2 separate regions of the Homo sapiens genome follow, and region 1 is linked to region 2. Evidence: promoter capture Hi-C in 16 types of primary human blood cells and fetal thymus (Javierre and others, 2016). All regions are on one chromosome and are shown on one strand. Each heading gives the region's core, a stretch centred on a gene start or on the middle of the fragment in contact. The rest is flanking DNA. Distances are from core to core; before and after follow the strand shown.

Region 1 (5,199 bases), core at 989-3,488, 160 kb before region 2:
AACTGCATCTCAGAACTACGGCGCTCCGAGAGGGCAGCGACTCGCCAGAGTCGGTCAGCCAGGCCTTGCCTAAAAGCAGAGAAGGCAAGAGTGCCCGGGAGCGCCTGGCGAAGCTTCGTGGCTTCCAGCCCGCCCGGGTGGCAGCGGCGTCCGCGTTTCCAGGGCAACGAGGGTGGCGCGGTTCGATGACGTCAGGGCGCCCGCGGCTCCGCCCCGCCCATGGGACGGACGGAGGCCGAGAGGCGTGGCGGGGGAGCAGTGGGGCCAGGCCAGAGACAGCTGCGCTGTGCGGGCAGCTAGTCCCAGTACTCCGAGTCGGTCGCGGGCCGACAGGCATCCCCTGAGCGCCTGCTGGGTGAGTTGGACGGTGCAGAGCAGCGAGGACCGGGGAGCCCGAAGGTGGAGGCTGCGTTAGCGCCAGGGGCGCGGACGCGACGGGGCGGGAGCGGGGGCACTGAAAGTGCCAGGCCCGGGGGTGTGGGGGCTGTGAGGATTCGCGGGCGGGGGGGCCAGGGTTACCCAGAGCAGGGGCCAGGAGGGCCGGTGGCCCACGTGCTGGGCATTCGGAGGACTTTACACATTGAACTAGGCAGCTGTTCACGAAAGGGAAGTGATTCACATCGCAGAGAAGACTGGAGGCAGCTGTTGCCAGAATAGTGATCTTGAAGCCCCACTTCCTTGCCAGAAACTGCTCCAAGCGTCTCATGTGAATGACAGAAGCCTAGACGGTAGACCCTGGGCACTAGGCAGGCGTCACTGTATTTGGATGACAGTAGCCTCAGACAGTAGACCCTGGGCACTAGGCAGACATCACCATATTTGGAATGCAGCAGCCTAGACAGTAGACCCTGGGCACTAGCCAGGTGTCGCCGTATTTGGAATGCAGCAGCCCAGACAGTAGACCTTGTCTAGACACTGGGCCCTAGCAAGGCATTGTTACTGGCCGGTCTTTGCTCCCAGGGTGGTGGCAGGCCGGTCCCAATGGCAGCAAGGCTCTTGCTCTCTGACCTGGGGTTCTTGGCCTCATGGATTCCAAGGAATGGAACCTTGGGCCATGCGGTGAGTGTTATAGCTCTATTAGAAGCTGTGGGTCACGGAAGAGAACTGTGGAACCCAGCGACTAGTGTTCACCTCAATTAGGATGAACCCAGGCACTTAGCTGTGCGGGAACAATGGCGAGTCTCTAGCCCGGGAGCAGCAACCGGTGCCTCGCTGGATCAGAAGCGCAGTGGACACCCTGCTGGATCTGGAGGGGGGTGGAAGTCAGCGGGGCGTCTGCGACAGCAGCCATCAGCAGTGGTGGATGGCAAGCAAAAGCTCAGCTCAAACCGGAACAAACATGGACCAGAAAAGTGTGCAGTTGCAAGATTTAATATCGTGAAAACAGAGCTCCCATGCAACGGGAGGGGACCCAAAGAGGGTTGCCCGATTCGGCTTGAATGCCTGGGTTTATATCCTGATCATTGTCCCTCCCCCTGTGCTCTCAGGCGACAGATGATCTGATTATTTCTTTACCACCTGTTTTTAGCCTCATTGGTATTTTAGTGAGCTCTCTTTACTACCTGATTGGTCTGGTGTGAGCTGAGTTACAAGCCCCATGTTTAAAGGTGGGTGTGGTCACCTTCCCCAGCTAGGCTTAGGAATTCTTAGTCGGCCTAGGAAGTCCAGCTAGTCCTGTCTCTTAGTACCCCCTCTCAACAGGAAAACCCAAGTGCTGTTGGGGAGGTTGGCCGATGACCGCTGTAACTGCTTCCTGCTGAATTGGGGCGTAGTAGAGGTCATGCAGTTGAGATTTCCTCGGGAGTGGTGCCTTCGATGTCATCAACATCGGAGCATGGGCTAGCAGGCCAGTCCAGGGGTCCACGGTAGATCTTAGTCATGGACTGCATCTGGGGCTCCATTTGAAGAACATTTGTAGTTTCACAGCTTTGATTCTGGAAGAGACAAACTTAACAAGGAGGTTAAAGATACAGGGATTGAAATGTGTGGCCCGAAGTGCAGGGGCATATGGGTGTGGATGGTGAAAGTGGGGTTTCCTTTAGAAAAACTCCTATACAATGGGGCATCAATATTTCTGGGAAGCCGCATTCTCCATAGAAGCTCTTGGTAAGGGGAGCTACTGGTAGTATAGCGGCATGGAGGGGGTGAGGTGATAGTGAAAGGGGGGTAAGACAACAGTAAAGAGAAAAATATGACGGGGGGGGCCATGGAGCTCTACGATTCCAGTTACTTTCCTCGCAGTTGTCGCTTGAAGAGCAGGTGCAGATCCTCTAGAGGTTCACAGGAATAGCTAGCGTTGTCTCCTGAATTTTTGGGTTCCTTTGGCGGTATCCAGGGTTTGATGTGTCTAAGACTCCACTCCAGACACTTTAACTGCACTCAGGGTAGATAAAATGACTGGGTAGGGTCCTTCCCAGTATGTATCTAGGGGTGGGGACTTAGAGGGAAGGGACTTGACTAATACCATGTTACCAGGGTGGAATTCCTTTCCCTCCTCTCGGGTACAGGTTCCCTGTAATGTTTTAAGAACTTGTTGATATTTGGCTAAGGAGGTGATGTCTGCAACTAAATTGGCCGTCTCTCGGTCAAGCACAAGGTCATTGGTTAGGAAGGGCTGTCCATACAGCATTTCGTATGGGCTAAGTCCTGCTTTTTGGGGGGAGTTTTGTATTCTTAATAAGGCTATGGGCAACAGAGCAGGCCATGCGAGGTGGGTTTCCTGAGTTAGCTTTTTTAGATGTTGTTTGAGTGTTTCGTTCATTTTCTCGACCTTCCCTGAGGATTGTGGCCTCCAGGCGCAGTGTAAGTGATATTGTATGCCTAAGTAACGTCTGCGATACTCGCTGGGTTACTGCAGCCTTGAAAGCGGGGCCATTGTCACTCTGTAAGTCTCAGGGAAGTCCGAATCTGGGAATTATTTCATGAATTAGTGCCTTTATTACGTCTTCGGCCTTTTCTGTCCTACAAGGAAAGGCCTCCTCCCAACCAGTGAAAGTATCTATCCAGACTAGTAGATACTGAAATCCCTGAGATTTGGGCATGTGGGTAAAATCTAGTTGCCAGTCTTCTCCTGGGTAATGGCCTGTTCTTTGTTCTCCTGAAGGAGCTTGGCGATAAGGCAGGGGATTATTTCTTTGCCACACTTCATAGGCCCTGACTATCTGCTTGATAGTTTTGAAAAGTCCTGATCCAGTTAATAATGATTTGGCCGTCTGATAGGTGCTATCAATGCCTAAGTGAAAGGTCTGATGAAGGGTTTTAAGTAATTTCAATTGGTTAGCTGCAGGCAAAAGTATTTTTCCTTCTTCGGTGGCTAGCCATCCTGAGGGGAAGAAACTATGTCCTCGTGAGGTTCCCCATCCTATTTCTTTTGAGTACTGGGGCTTGGTTTCCTACAGGGGATTACCCCATACTAGGGGTCCTTCTATAAGCATTTCTAATGGAGGGTCCCACCTTGCGGCTCTTTTGGCTTCAGTATCTGCTTCGCGGTTCCCTTCTATTTCTCTTTCCTTTCCTTTCTGATCACCCCGGCAGTGTAAGACTGCCACCTCTTTAGGTTTCTGTACAGCCAATTGTAATCTCCTAATGGCTTCCTGAGATTTGATAGGTGTTCCCTCGGAAGTTAGGAATTCCCTTTCTCTCCATATTGCTGCATGGGCATGGAGGACTAGGTAAGCATTCTTAGAGTCTGTGTATATATTTACCCTTTTTCCTTCTCCTAATTTTAGTGCCTGAGTGAGGGCTATTAGTTCTGCCAGCTGAGCGCTAGTTCCTGGAGTGAGGGGATTACTTTCAAGTATTCCATTATCACTGACCACTGCATACCCTGCTTTTCGAAGTCGTTTTTCTACAAAGGAACTTCCGTCAGTATACAAGTTGAGGTCGGGATCAGTCAAGGAAACCTCTAGAAGGTCCCCTCGAGCGGCGTAGGTTTGAGCAATCACCTGTTGACAGTTATGTTTTATCTTTTCTTCATTGTCTGGAAGAAATGTGGCTGGATTAAGAGTTGCACGAGTGCGCAGTCGCAGCACTGGCCCTTCAAGTAATAGAGCCTGATATTTAAGCAAACGGTTGTCTGACAGCCGTAAGTCTCCTTTAGCAGTGAGTATGCCGTCCACATCATGAGACATCCACACAGTAAGATCTCTTCCCTGTATCATTTTAACTGCTTCAGATACTAAGACTGCTACTGCTGCCATTACCCATAAACAATGAGGCCAACCCTTTGCCACTACATCAGTTTCCTTACTCAGGTATGCCATGGGTTGCAACCTGGTCCCTCGGACCTGTGTAAGGAATCCTAGAGCTATTCCTGTTTTTTCTGTGACACATAAAGAAAAGTCTTGCCCCTTTGGCAAGCTTAACACTAGGGCTTGGATTAGGGCCTTCTTTAGGGCCTGGAAAGCCACTTCTGCTTCAGGTGTCCTTCTTACTAAATGGGTATTCACTTTCTGAGTTTCCTTAATTAGTGTGTATAATGGCCTGGCTATTTCACTGTACCTGGGAATCCATATTCGGCAGAAGCCTGTTATGCCAAGGAACCCTCTTAATTGCTTTATGGTTTTGGGATAAGGATAAGCCAGTATAGGCTGGATGCATTCCTCACTGAGGGCCCTGGTGTGTCTGGATAATTTTAGCCCTAAGTATTTAACCTGCTGTGAGCAGAGCTGAGCCTTTGGTCTGGAAACCTTGTAGCCACAGGTGGCCATGAAGTTTAAGAGCACTTGGGTGGCTTGATGGCACAAGGTTTCTGAATGGGTGGCTAAAAGTAAATCATCCGCATACCGAAGGACAAGAGTGCCCAAGTATGAGAACTGGCTCAAGTCTCGGGCTAATGCCTGGCCAAATAGATGGGGGCTGTCCATGAACCCTTGGGGTAAAACAGTCCAGGTGTGTTGAGACATTAGATTCAAAGGATCTTCAAAGGCAAGCAAGAATTGAGAGTCAGGATGTACAGGGATGCAGTAAAAGGCATCCTTAAGGTCCAGGACTGTAAACCACTCTGCTTCCTCTGGTATTTGGGAAAGCAGAGTGAGTATAAGATTAGGTACAGCTGGGTATAGAGGAACAACAGCCTCATTGATAATCCTGAGATCTTGCACTAACCTCCACTGTCCATTGGGTTTCTGTACTCCTAAAATTGGAGTATTGCAGGGGCTATTGCATGGTTTTACTAGGCCTTGGGCTTTTAGGTCCTTA
Region 2 (5,210 bases), core at 319-2,818:
GTGAGTCTCCACTACAGGAATAGAGCGCTCAGTTCCCCAACCTTTTTACACCATGAAAACACTTGGAATTGTGTTCAGCGGACCGCAGAAAAAATGAGGAAGCCCTCTGCAGGCTTCCCAGGAGCCCCGGCAGTTGGTGCTCCCCATGGTGCTCCTGAGGCTCCACGGAGCCTGTTCTGGCAGCTACTGCATCTCTCCCTGCCACCTGCAAGCTGATGGCACGCAGGACCCTGACTCCTATCCATGAACCTGGGGCCCGTCGCCTGTCTTCAGTGAACCCCTGTCCGGCCACAGCAGAGTCTGCTTTCCTAAGAGGCACCCCAAACAGGGAAAAAGGTACAGCAGGTTTTCCAGCATTTTCCTCCACGTACAGAGTCAACCTGCACGGTGAGATGCAACCTAGAGCCGACTGCCTCAAGGGAGGCTGTTCTAGGGTCTGACCCCGACATTCTCTCCCCCAAGCAGCCTCTCCCTGGGGCGCCCTAAGCAGTTCAGGGACCTGCACCCTGACCCTTCCCACACAGTCCTGTGGAGACATGCACTTAACCACAGTCTCCAGGAAAGAAGGCATCACCCAAGAGGGCACCCCGGCTGGAGAGTTAGGGCAGGAAAGAGTGCCCTTCACTCAATACCCGGACAGAGCAGGGGTCCAAGGATCAAGGGAATGGGCACGAGACATCAGTTCTGAAGAGACCAGAGCTGGAAACAGTCCTAGATGAGGCCCCTCGGGTGGCCAGGAGACCACCGGGTTTCCCTTTTGACTCTAATTCTGTGACCTTGGGGACAGCGGTTTACCTTTCCGGGCCTCAGTTTCTTCATCTGAAAGACCAGAGGGCTGGTGGGATGATTTCTGAAGGGCCACCCGGTGGTGCCCAGGGAAGGGCGACCTCGAGCTCGGCCCTAACTCCCGGCCTTAGTTTCCCCAAGAGAAAGAAGCTTCACTTCCTCCCTGGCCCCCGAGCGCTTACCCAACGGGCAGGCGCCCTTCTGCAGCTGGCGCACGGGCGTCCCGGAGAGCTGCAGCGCGCGGCGGCTGGCCGCCTGCAGCGCGCACACGTTGGCATAGGTGTGCCCGTCGGTGCCACACACGGCGTGCGACCAGCGGCAGCGGCATAGGCCGCGCACGCACTCCAGGCTCTCGCCGCAAGGCGAGTCCAGAGGGCCGCCACAGGGCTCGCCCTCGCTGGCGGCGCACACCAGGCAGCAGTTGCAGAGGTCGGGCACGTAGCCGCCGGGGCAGCGGGGGCTGGGACACCGCGACACGTCGCAGCGCGCGGGACACGGCGCCGCAGGGGGCTCCCGGGCCAGCGCCAGCGCGGCCAACGCGGCCAGGAGCAGCGCTCGCGCCTGCATGGCGGCAGGGCCGGCGGCGGGTGGCAGCGCGGGAGACCGGGCGGGGGCCGGCGGGGACAACGAGGCCGCTGCGGGGCCGGGCGCCGGGCGCCTACGGATGGGACTGGGGCGGACGCGCGGTCACATGCGCCGGTGGCTCAGGCTGGCGGGCGTCAGGGCGGCAGGGGCATCCCCAGGGCGCAGGGAGCGCAGGGACCAGCTCCCTCCAGCCTGACGGTCCGCGGGCGGCGGGTCCCGCGCCTTTAAAGGCGACCGCCCAGCCCGCCCTCGCTGGAAGGGGCGGCCCGGCCCCTCCGCCAGCCCCGCCCAGGCCCCGACAGGGCCCCGCCTGGCCTTCCGGGCCTGGACCCACCCGGCAGGCCTTGGGACTCTGGTCGGCCTGGTCGAGAAAACCCGAGGCTACAGACACGCAGGGGTCCTTTCTGGTGGGGACCCCCGGGCCCAGCCTATCCCAGAAACGTTGGGGGATGCGTTCTCCCCGCTCTGGAGGGGTCTGTCCGTGTCCAGTCTCCTCTGTGCCTCAGTTTCCTCCTCCAGGAAAGGGGAATTGACAGCATTTCTCAACCTCATAGGGTCGTTGGAAGAACCACAGAGGCCATGGCTGAGCAGTGTTCCCGAGTCCTCGCTGTCCACGGAACCGGAAGCTGTTTCCATTCTCATCATTGCTCCTGCATTTTCTGCAGGGCCCCTTCAGACCCAGGTCCCATCACGAGAGTCAGAATCTGGTGACAGTGCGTCAGCTGATGGGGTGAAGGCTGCGGAGTTGTGAGAGAAGGCAGAACCCCCCTTGGAGGTGAATGTCAAGCCTGAAGAGGAAGGATGGGAAGCGGGAGCTGGCCGTGACCTGGGCAGAGGCTCCCAAGCAAAAGCAGGTCGGGGCAGCAGGAGATAACGCCGCGCGCACAGCCTGGAGCTGCGGTCTTCACACTGTGTGTGTTCCTAGTACCCTGGGCTGCCTGGCGAAGCCTGGGTGTCCTTTTCAGAACGATGTCGTCAAGTAGATTTAAACGCATAAAACAAAGACCATGGGGTCACAAAGGGGAACAATTCTATCAAAACACAGTTATCAAAATACATGAAACAATTCATGACAGCGTGGCCTATGGGCTTCTTTATCAGCATGTTAATGGCAGGTTCTGGTCGGTCTGTCGTCTGATACCAGTGGACACTTCGCAGCAGCCCTGTGCAGAGGGCTGCCACTGGAGACACCTTCGGTGAGGGCGGTAACATGGGGATGTAAACACTGCTTCTGCTGGCCGTGGAGCCACAGGCCCTGCTGGCTGGGGTCAACTGCACCCCCAAAGGAATGAATGCTGGACTTCAGTTGGAGTTGTTGGGGTAAATAAAGACGTTTTTCCATCCAGGTTCACAGATACCCAAGTTAAGAATGGGGAGGGGTACCTCTGGTCCAGAGGAGGGAGGGGGAGCTGGAGGTTAAAGGGCCTCGGGGAATGGGAAGGTGGAGGGGCCTGATCCCTGAGGGCCCTGGGTCCTCAAAGGCCTGGGGAGGCGTTGAGTAGGGAGCGGCCCCATCAGACAAGATGTCTGGGGAGGATGAGGTGGGAGGAGGCGGGGCGCCAAGTGTGAGCCCCCATAGGACCCAGAGAGAGTGAAAGGTTGAAGGGTCCCAGGGGACGGGGAGAGAAGGGACCTGGAGCTTCTCCCCCTAAAAGGCCCTTTGACAAGGGGCAATAGCACCTGCGTTTCTGCCTCTACAAACCTCAAGTGCACTTTACTTTGAAGATGTGGAGAATTTCAGGCCATTTTTTGGAATGACCCAGAATGCTAGGAGTTGGGGACCTCAGGGCTGGGCTGAACCTCCCTCAACCTTGGCCAGGGCTCCCGGTTCATGTCTCTGCAGGGTGGGCTTGCCTAAGGCGCAAGGAGAATTTTTCACGTGCCCAGGATGCCTGCCCCTCGAGTAAGCCTTGGTGGGCTACTGTGGCCCAGAGCTGGCTTTTTGGGGGGCCTGTGTTTTCCTGCAGACACCTGGCCCTGAAGATCAACACTTTTCCATCCCTGGATCCTTCAGTGCGCAGAAAACTAAGTCCCTGGGAAGGGCCCAAGAGCTCATTTCCCCTAAGCTTTTCCTCTACAATGGGGAAACTGAGTCTCTGAGAGAGTCCAGGACCGGCGCTGCAGCAGGTCAGAGTTTGCACAGCCTGCCACAGCTTCCAAGGAACCACAGCTACCGATGTGTAGGCCCTGAGGCTGCTGGAGCGCTCTGCATACACTTGACTCAGTCTTCACGAAGCGCCTGAGAGGTGGGCGTTAGGATCCTTAGAACAGGGCTGGGGGAGTGCAAGGCCAGAGATTCTGGCAGGTGGGCCTCAGATCTTGGCCTGTCCTTAGGTCAAGTCCTTGCTCCTCCCTGGAGACCATGCTGCCCCCAACGGTCACCATCTTGACCACCTTGCAGTGGGGATTTAGTCCTCTTGTACAGAGAGGGAAACTGAGGCCCGGAGTGAAAAGACCCTTCTCTGCTCTGCAGCTGGGATGCAGTTCCCTGGGGTGGCCTTTGCTCTTCCCTGAAATGGGCAGGCAGGGCTCACAGTGGCTGCCTTGAGCTTGGCAGGAGCCCAGCGCTGTCCTCAGGAGAGCCGCGCCCCCTGCTGCTCCCGCCCTGCACTGCCTCTCACTCAGTAAACTTTGGGGCCTCCCATCCCCAACCCTGAACACCTGACTTAGGGGCCAGGAGTAGGAGAGGATTCCCCAAGGGCCTGGGATCCACCCGGGAGGTTCCTCTAAGTCTCTGGCTTCCCAGCACAGGACCGCCTCTGTCGTCAGCCCAGAGCTCCAGATACAGGCTCCGCCAGGCCAACGTGTGCAGGCGCAGGGCCGGCCCTCTGGCCCGTGTTATCTCAGCTCGTTCTTCAACAATGCCAGGAAGCTTGTTTAATTTACGTACACCCCTCCTTCGCTCATTTCTACTTACTCCCGCTTGTCACCCTGCCCGAAATATTGATAGTTCTTTACAAACAAGCATAAGATGAGACGTTGCTTATCCTCAGTGGAATGGAATTCACTCCCTCCAGGCTGGGCCTGGGTCTGCCTCTCTCCAGGGTACTCTTGTCCCATGCCAGGACCCCATGGCCCCATCCCATCCCTCCATCTCCGCCCAGAGCTGGACAGCAGTGCGCATCCTGGGCCTGCAGAGGAGCCCTCCAAGCTGTGGGCAGGCTCGGCCCTTTGGCTTGACCCCTGCCCAAGTCCAGGCTTCGTCTCAGATGAGGTCATCACTTACACCACTCCAGGGACCTTGAAGACCATCATCAGCTGTGATAAGACGCGGTGGCTGTGTGAGTGGGTGACTCAGAGGGTGGGCTCTGCTCAGGCTGATGGGTGGGGGGTGGGCGTAGGTTGTGATATGGGCCACCCTTTCTGCACCTCCCAACACTGACATCAGCTCTGCCGTCCTTGGGTGCTTCTGTAAGCTCTGGGAACAACCCCTCAAGGGGGAATGCCAGTTACAGCCATTTTATAGGTACAGAAAGCCGAGCTAGGGGAGTTTACACGACTTGCCGAAGGCCCCTCAGCCTTTAGGTGATGGACCCAGGCTTAGGAAAAGTCGGATCTGACCCCAAAGTGTATGTTCTTCCTCCAGAGCCACACTGCTGTTCCATACCCATTTTATGGAAGGAAAAACTGAGGCCCACAAAGGGAAAGTGGGTGGCTGAGACAACCAGGCTAACTGATACTAGTAGGTCGCATTGATTGAGCTTCTGTGATGTACTGTGTACTAGGGACTGTGCAGGTGTCTAGCCCTTACCACACCCTCTGAAGGAGGTCTTACTATTGCCATGCCCATTGCACAGATAAAGAAAGCAAGGCACAGAGAGGCTCAACAGCTCATCGCT

Evidence for each region. Contacts are between HindIII fragments. The CHiCAGO score rates a contact against its expected background, and 5 or more counts as called.
Region 1: a fragment that was not itself captured here is called in contact with the fragment with the promoter of HTRA3 in region 2 in 1 of 17 cell types (M0 macrophages); the score reaches 6.4 in M0 macrophages.

The regions. Positions count from the first base shown.
Region 1 is chr4:8,423,507-8,428,705 of GRCh38, reverse strand. The region is part of intron 1 of ACOX3 (acyl-CoA oxidase 3, pristanoyl); the gene reads left to right. Among named protein-coding and RNA genes, the nearest start is that of ACOX3, 15 kb to the left of the region's middle. RefSeq lists a silencer at 215-444. The HindIII fragment of the contact is 4,246 bases long and covers 116-4,361 here.
Region 2 is chr4:8,266,112-8,271,321 of GRCh38, reverse strand. HTRA3 (HtrA serine peptidase 3) reads right to left here and starts at 1,568. Exons shown (of 9, transcript NM_053044.5): 1 at 969-1,568. The coding sequence starts at 1,353. LOC105374373 (a long non-coding RNA gene) reads left to right here and starts at 1,141. Exons shown (of 2, transcript XR_001741572.2): 1 at 1,141-1,215; 2 at 1,926-2,716. RefSeq lists a silencer at 3,883-4,032. The HindIII fragment of the contact is 2,501 bases long and covers 939-3,439 here.